Regions from separate parts of the Homo sapiens genome. Here all the other regions are linked to region 3. Evidence: promoter capture Hi-C in human tissues and cell types (Jung and others, 2019). All regions are on one chromosome and are shown on one strand. Each heading gives the region's core, a stretch centred on a gene start or on the middle of the fragment in contact. The rest is flanking DNA. Distances are from core to core; before and after follow the strand shown.

Evidence for each region. Contacts are between HindIII fragments. The study calls those that stand out against the background at their distance.
Region 1: a fragment that was not itself captured here is called in contact with the fragment with the promoter of DACH1 in region 3 in 1 of the 25 tissues and cell types used here (dorsolateral prefrontal cortex).
Region 2: a fragment that was not itself captured here is called in contact with the fragment with the promoter of DACH1 in region 3 in 1 of the 25 tissues and cell types used here (lymphoblastoid cells).

What each region holds. Positions count from the first base shown.
Region 1 is chr13:72,701,215-72,703,914 of GRCh38, forward strand. It overlaps the pseudogene RPL21P110. Among named protein-coding and RNA genes, the nearest start is that of MZT1, 25 kb to the right of the region's middle. The HindIII fragment of the contact is 4,439 bases long and covers 1-2,700 here.
Region 2 is chr13:71,329,091-71,331,790 of GRCh38, forward strand. No RefSeq gene overlaps it. Among named protein-coding and RNA genes, the nearest start is that of LINC00348, 320 kb to the left of the region's middle. The HindIII fragment of the contact is 8,737 bases long and covers 1-2,700 here.
Region 3 is chr13:71,865,821-71,868,520 of GRCh38, forward strand. It overlaps DACH1 (dachshund family transcription factor 1), which reads right to left and starts at 1,384. Exons shown (of 11, transcript NM_080759.6): 1 at 102-1,384. The coding sequence starts at 949. The HindIII fragment of the contact is 6,446 bases long and covers 1-2,700 here.

The sequences.
Region 1 (2,700 bases), core at 13-2,512, 840 kb after region 3:
CCAACATGCTAAAACTCCATCTCTACTAAAAATACAAAAATTAGCCAGGTGTGGTGGCTCACACCTGTAATCCCAGCTACTTGGGAGGCTAAGCCAGGAGAATCACTTGAACCCAGGAGGCAGAGTTTGCAGTGAGCCAAGATCGTGCCATTGCACTCCAGCCTGGGCGACAGAGTGAGACACTGTCTCAAAAAAAAAAAGAAAAGAGAAAACATCGCGTGAACCTGGGAGGCAGAGGTTGCAGTGAGCCAAGATTGCGCCACTGCACTCTAGCCTGGGCGACAGAGCAAGACTCCTCTCAAAAAAAAAAAAAAGCTTTTTCTCTCTCCCACGTTAGTTCCCCTAGGGGTTCCCTAGTTAACCACATTTACTGCTAAATCTTAACATAGATTCTCAAACCTTTCCAAAACTGATGAAAGTGACAATGCAGGGATCATCATAATTTATCACAATTATTTGTATCTAAGTCATGCTAATGTCTGGTACATTGAAAGGTCAGGTTAATACCAGTTTTTCCTAAAATCCTAGGGCTCCCAGGGTCTTGCATTTTAACATGAGTGGTATTTTTGTGAAATTAAAACACTTTTGTCTTTGTTCCATGCAAAACGCCTCCCTCCCTCCCTCTCGCTCATTGTCTCTGAACTTGGCCTTGATTGACAAAATCCATTTCTATTAGGTAAAGCTGGTGAAAGCAGGAATGGTGTTTATCCAGGGCTTAAATTAAATCTTACAGAGCTTTTTCTCTGACTGCCCCTAGCTCCCTACAGTTTTCCGTCAGTAGACTTCCAAGGAAGCTTTCATTTAGCCAGCTGTTTGCTCCTATTTTACATGATGGTTCTCGGTGTTCAGCAGGAACAAAGATCACGGATATTCCCATTTGGGTTTATCAGAAGCAACTGAGAACAACGAGCTCTTTTTATGTTGAAAATAGAGATTTAAAATTTATTCATAATCTTTACTTCTTCTCCCAACACATTCTCATCCCCATGGGCTCCTTTCTCTAATTAGCTATGCAAGTCTTGACACTAAAATTTAGCTACATGTTAATCTTTCATTTTTATTAGTATGGTGTCTTTATCTTCCTTCCTATATAAGCACAGTATATGCTTATATTTAAATACATTATATGTTTCCAAAAATGAGTACATTAAAATGACAACTTATAAAAACATTCAGTCTAATTCTATTGGTGAGAAAAAAAAATACATCTTAAATATGTCACTTCACAACCACTGAGCCACTCCTGAAATGAAGTTACTAGGTAGGTCTAATTTATACAAAAGAAAATGGAGTTGAACATTTATGAAGCTCCTACTATGTGCCAAGTGGAATGCTATGGATTTTATATCCATCATCGCCATTTAATCCTCACAGTGCTGTGAGCTGTTGTGTTGTTATTGTCAGACTTGGAGAGGGCACAACGAGTCCAAGCCTCCTGTCTGACACCAAAGCCTGAGCTGCCTACTAAATTATATTAGAGCCAACAGGAATCTTGGGGATTATCTAAGATAGTGGTTTTCCAAAGTATGGGATGAAATGAGGTGGTACACAGGGACATTGCATTTAAAATGCATTAAATACCACAGTGAAGAAGTTGATTTCAATACTGTTCTAATCCTTCTGGCGACATCTAGAGGAAATGCAGTTCCGTGTTCTGACACTTGCTCATCTGCTTTACTTTTTTATTTTTATTTTTATTTTTTTTGAGACGGAGTCTTGCTCTGTCACCCAGGCTGGAGTGCAGTGGTATGATCTCAGATCACTGCAACCTCCACTTCCCAGGTTCAAGTGATTCTCCTGCCTCAGCCTCCCGAGTAGCTAGGATTACAGCTGCGCACCACGATGCCTGGCTAATTTTTGTATTTTTAGTAGATGGGGTTTCACCATGTTGGTCAGGCTGGTCTCGAACTCCTGACCTCAGGTGATCCGCCCGCCTCAGCCTCCCAAAGTGATGGGATTACAGGCATGAACCACCGCGCCCGGTGCTCATCTGCTTTTCTACAGAAGGAAAAGTAGGTGTTAGAATCATAGTTTTAAAAGACAATACCTAGCAAAGATATAATTCCATATTTAATTTTAATTATTTTTATAGCTATGGGAAAATAATGCTGGTTTTTCCACTTAAGAAGTCATGGATATTTTAATTCTCAAAGTACATGCAAAATAAAGGTATTGCTGTTACAATAAAAAGGCGATTTGCTGGTAGGAGAGTAGGTAGATTCACCTCTAAAAAAACAGGTGAAATAGTTTTCCCACATATGTGAAAGTAAAATTATCTGAACGACCTCTTTAAAGGCTTTTGATATAATTCTCCAAGTGTACATCTGGCGATTTACTGCTTTAGGTAATCAGAGGTCATAGTGTGGACCGCTTCTGATATAACATGCATGCATGTTCACTCAGCTTCTGGGGAGCCATAAGATACCTCAATATTCTGGCCTTTCGGCCGGAACCGCCATCTTCCAATAATTCGCCAAAATGACAAACACAAAGGGAAAGAAGAGAGGCACCTGATATACGTTCTCCAGGCCTTTTAGAAAACATGGAGTTGTCCCTTTGGCCACGTATATGCGAAATCTACAAGAAAGGTGATATTGTAGACATCAAGGGAATGGTTACTCTTCAGGTGTTACCATGGCGAAACTGGAAGAGTCTACAACGTTATCCAGCAGGCTGCTGGCAGTGTTGTCAACAAGTTAA
Region 2 (2,700 bases), core at 51-2,550, 540 kb before region 3:
TTTCTAGTTTAACTTAAATGCTGAAATCAGTGGAACATATAAGGTCTAAATCAGAAAGTCACATACCCCAGATACTGTTTTTCAACTTCTTCAGTCATATAGATTGCCCTGAATTGCATAAAACATTTTTATCTTGCAACTTACTTAGCAGTTCCTTGGGCTGTCTAATGAACTAAAAGATTATCATTATTGTTAGGTGCACAGGAGTGTAGGCTACATGGCACACACTGTTGATTTGATACCCTCTATGATGACAGTATATGGTTCACCGACTTGGTTAAACAGCACATCAGCAGCAGTGATGGGTGATCAATCTCATTCCCCATAGCATTGCTCCCCAAAGAGTCATTATTGAGAATAAAATGAGAAAAGGCTATCAGAGGGAATCATTGGGTCTATGGCTTAAAAAAAAAAAAAAACTAAGAAAATAAATGAATAAGAAGAGTCTTGGGAAAATGCATTTTTTAAAACCTCGTTATAAAGAGAGGCAAAGGGACTGATTAATATTGTGGAAAATGGCAACTTTATTTTCATACTTACCACAAGTATGCATCATTGTCAAGGACTCAAAGCAGCTTATTATGCTAGCATATTTACATGGAACTTCCATTTCATTACTATATTCATTTAAAAAAATAACTTAAAAGATGCACACAAGGTATCAGAATCTCAACTACCAATGGCCAATACCTGGTACAAATGGAAAACTAAGTTTAATTTTCTAAATTTAAGATTAACATTCTTAATAGTAACATCATATGAATTTTTGTTTTGCTGTTCTATATCAAAGAATGAAAAATCAACAGTGTAACTAGAATAAAAAGCGAATTCTAAAATATAAACTTATTTCTAAAGTGATTTAGTTGAAAAAATCTAATTCTTATTTTTTCCTTTACAACTATACAGGTTGAGAATTTTAATAAACATTCCTAGTAAGGTACAATAACTGGAACTAATATTTTTCCCATGTGAATTTCCCTTATAGGAACTTGATTATCTTGTAAAGCAGAGAAAAATTGTTAGGGAATGTTGTAATTCAGAAAATGAAAATGTTCATTGTAATAACTCACATTTATTTAGTTCTTATGATGTCTCAGTTACTTGCTAAGAATTTTACATAGATTCTCTCATTTAATCCTCATAGTATCTCTGAGGTAGTTTCTATCAGTTATCTGTTTTACACATGAGGAAACCGAGACCTAGAAAAGGATTAAATAGCTTGTTTAAGGTTATAACATTTGTAAGAGTTGGAATAACAAGTTGAAACAAGAGAGACTGACTTTAAATTCTACCTTATTCAATACCATGCATTTTTACTTATCTTGAAAGTTTGCTTCAAATTTGCAGAGAACATTGCTTTTATTTCTAGGAACCAAATTTTCTGAATCTCATGGTAGGAAATATCATTTGGTAAATGAAAGACATAACTTTAAAAAATATTTAAGTTTTACTCACCCTCCCCGCTTTTTGTTTTGTTTTGTTTTTGTTTGTTTTTATTTTTGTTTTTCTATTAAGTTAGTTACTCTCAGTACCGTTACAGAAAACCCTTATCAAAATGTCTTACAATTAGGAAATGTTAGTGTTTTACATAAAAAAAATTAACAAAGCTAGCTCCAGGGCTAGGTGAATTTAACAGCTTCATGACATAACCAGGAGCTCAGGTACTTTCTATATTATCCCATTTGTTTATTTATTTATTTGAGGCAGAATCTCTCACTCTATTGCCCAGGGTGGAGTGCAGTGGTACAATCATAGCTCACTGCAGTCTTGAACGTCTGGGCTCAAGCAATCCTCCCTCCTCAGCCTCCCAAGTTGCAGGGACTACAGGTGTGAGCCATGCCAACCTTCTTCTTTATTATCTATCTTCCCATTCTCCCCAACGTGACCTTCTTAGATACACAAGATGACTCCAGAAGTTCCAGATATATCCAGACATGATAGTGTGCAGCAAAAAAAAAAAAAAAAAAAAAAAAAAAAAAAAGAGACACCTTTCAAAGAGTCTCCTGGAACTTCTCTTATGTCTCTTTGAGCAAAATTTTATTGCATGTCTGTGTCTATACCAGTTCTAAAACAAGAGAATGGAACCACCATAATCAGTAAGCCCTGTATGATTCAGCTCTTGCTAGGAATGGATGAGACCTCTTCTTCCAAAGGAGAAGGCCAACTTATGACAGGTGGATTCCAGAACTAAATTAGGCAACTTTATAAAGAAGAAAGGGCAGAAAGAATGTAAATAATTGTAGTGTCCAATGAAAAATGGCATATAGATTAAGAGCATGGATTGGATTTAAACAGGTTGGATTCATATTATTGTGCCGTAATTTGTAAGTGATGAAGCTATGTGGCCTTTTGAAAATTTCTTAGTCTCTCTGTGCCTGTCTCCTCTCTTGTAAAGTAAAATCCATAACAGTAACTATTTCCTAGAGTAGTTTTAAGGTTGAAATGTGTTAAAATGTGTATAGCACTGAGAACAGTGCCTAGCCCATATGATAGCATCTACGTCTGAAATTTCCAAACGTATTTTAAAGCTCACATTATAGGAGTTAGTAGTTTCTGGTCCAGCATGTTAGCAGCTTGGAAGACACTGCTCCATTCTCACAAGTAAAAAGCTGAACAAACCAAAAAATCAACAACTTTTCTTAGATCCATCAGAGAAGTGAATTCGCAGGGCAATCTGATGCTCCCCAAATTGAAGAGGCA
Region 3 (2,700 bases), core at 134-2,633:
CGCGGGCGCGCAGAGCGAGCGGCGCCGGGAAAGGAGCGAGGGCAGGCGAGCAGGCTGGTGGGAAGGGGCGCGGGCGGCGGGGGCTATCCCCCCCGACTCACCTTGCGTTGGTGCAGTCATTGTAGAGGGTCTCGAAGTCCTTCCTGGAGATGAGTTTGCAGCGGTTCACTCCTGGCTGGATGGCGCCCAGTCCCCTCAGGATGCGAACTTGTTCCACATTGCACACCACCGGCGTGATCTCCAGCCGCTTCAGCTTGGTGTAGACCGTATGCAAGCCCCCCACCAAGTGCTTCAGGAACAGGTCGAAAGCCTGGGGCAGGCAGATCAGCTCGCAGCCCTCCACCGTGAAGGAAGCCACTTTGGCCCCCCTCAGATCCACCATTTTGCACTCATTATTCTGAGGGGTGTTTTCCACTGGGGACGGGGTTGAGTACACGGGTTTCCCGGGGAGGGGGCCGCAGCTGCTGCTGCTACTGCTGCTGCTGCTACTACTGCTGCTGCTGCTGCTGCTGCTACTGCTGCTGCTGCTGCTGCCGGTGCTGGCGTTGATGGGGGTGCTGGAAGCGACGCCGCCGCCAGCGCTGATGCCGCCGCCGCCGCCGCCGCTGCCGTTGCTCGCGGCCGCCAGGTTGGGGTTGCAGTTGCTGCCACCGCCGCCGCCGCCACCGCCGCCTCCGTTGCCGCTGCTGCCGCCGCCGCCTCCGCTGCCGCCGCCGCCGCCGCCGCCGCCGGTAGAGGTGACTGTGGCCGCCGCCGCCGCCGCCGAAGCGATGGGCTCCGGGCGGAACAGAGTTGGCCCAGAGGACGCCGGGGGTCCGATGGAAGGAGCCGGAGACGAAGTCGCCGAAGAGGTGGAGGTGGTGGTGCCAGAGGAGGAAGCAGACGTGGAGATTGGGGGTTGAGGGGGGACCAGCTGGGTCGGAGGGATCAAAGCCGCCGGCACTGCCATGGTCACATATAAGGGGAAACAGACGGAGGAGAAGCGAGAGGAAAAGTTGCCACACACCCCCGGGAGGGGAAGGGGAAAAAAGGGGGGAGAAGGAGCGAGGGGGGCAACAACAACTCCGGGAGAGAACGAGAAGGAGAAAGGGAGAGAAGGGGGAGAAAAGGAGGTGAAGGTAATAAAGAGCGAGCGCAAGAGGGGCGAGCACGAGAGGCGCTCTGGAGAGGAACGCACAAAAGTGTCCCGCAAGTCGAAATGCGAGTCCTCTCCGGGGGCTGGGATCGAGGGCTGGTTTGGGGGTGGGGGTGGGGCGGGGAGGGTCGGCTGTTGTTGTGTGGGTCTCGCTCTAGCACAAAGTTAAGGATGAAGGTGAAAAGGAGGAGGTTTGAAGGACTTGGGCTCTCCCTGGCAAGTACATTGATCAAAGATTGAGAGGGGAATGACAGAGAGAAAATGAGCTGAAAAGTGCAGGCTGCCGGCTGGACGAGTTGTTGTTGTCACACGGTGCAGAGGGGAGGAGCTCCGGAAACTTGAAATACCCTTTGAAGCCGCAAAAACCTCACTCACTAGTATTAACCCAAATTATCCAACCAGGAACTCGGAGCAGAGACTCCGAGAGCGCGAGACACTGGAGAGGGAGCGTGCGAGGAAAGGAGGAGGGGAGGGGGAGGATACGGAAAGAAACTGTGGGAGGGACGGAGAGGAAAAGCCGGGGACACAGAAGTGGCGATCGGAAAAGGAGAGGGAGATCATCTACTTCTCTTCTACTACTACCGTTAGATTGCATGTCTCACATTCCATTTCGTCCGCGGGGACTGGTAATTTTTTCCAAAGCTTCTAAACAATCGCCCGCCAACTTAAAGAGGAGCCTGAGCGCGCCGAGCTCTCTCCTTCCAGGATTTAGGATCCATCTCCACGCGTTTTGGCAATGAGCTAGAAACGAAAACACAGCCCCCACTTCACGATTATTCAGAAATTATTTTGAGGAAAATTCACATGTAAGCAAAGCGTAATGTTCTTTTGCATCTGATTGTTTATTTCTCTACTAAATTATTTATTTATATAAAGATAGTGAAAATTCCAGGACAGTTTTCAAGTGGTGAGAAGAAAGTCAGTCCGAAATCGCTTAAGAATAATGGAAAGCTCTGTATTCAATTCCATATTTCCTAATAGGTTGTGGAAAGAAATGCTTGCCTTGATGTGGATGATTTAGAATAACTTCACTGTCTCCCCAAAAGCCAGTCAGAAATACCTGTTAAACCTAGAGCTATCAAGGAGATAAGGTATCCTTGAAGATTTAGAAAGTGGAAAAAGGGTTTTCTTACCCAAAACTCTATAATTAATTCACCTGTCTTACACAGTAACCAACTATCCTCATGTCCTTTAAGACCCAAAGCCAATTGCTAATGTGTTTTTTGGACAACACAATAGTTTTTTTTTTTTTTTTTTCATGTTTGAAAAGTGCTGCTGTAGTTTTGGAAAGTCCTTTTCAATTTGTCAGTAAATATATGTTTTGTAAATAATGGGAAGAACAAAAACAAAGCTCACTAGTTGACTTGTAAAGACTTGGGTAGCTGTGCTTAAAACAACATGAGGCTGAGTTTAGACTGACTCTATTCCTCCTTTCCTTCCTCTTTCCTTTTCTTTTCTTTTCTAACTTGTTGCACTGAAGTATTTATTCAAGGATTTTTGACTAACATATCATTTGAATATGGGTCAAATCTATTTGCTGCTCATGTCTCCAAGTATCTTCAATT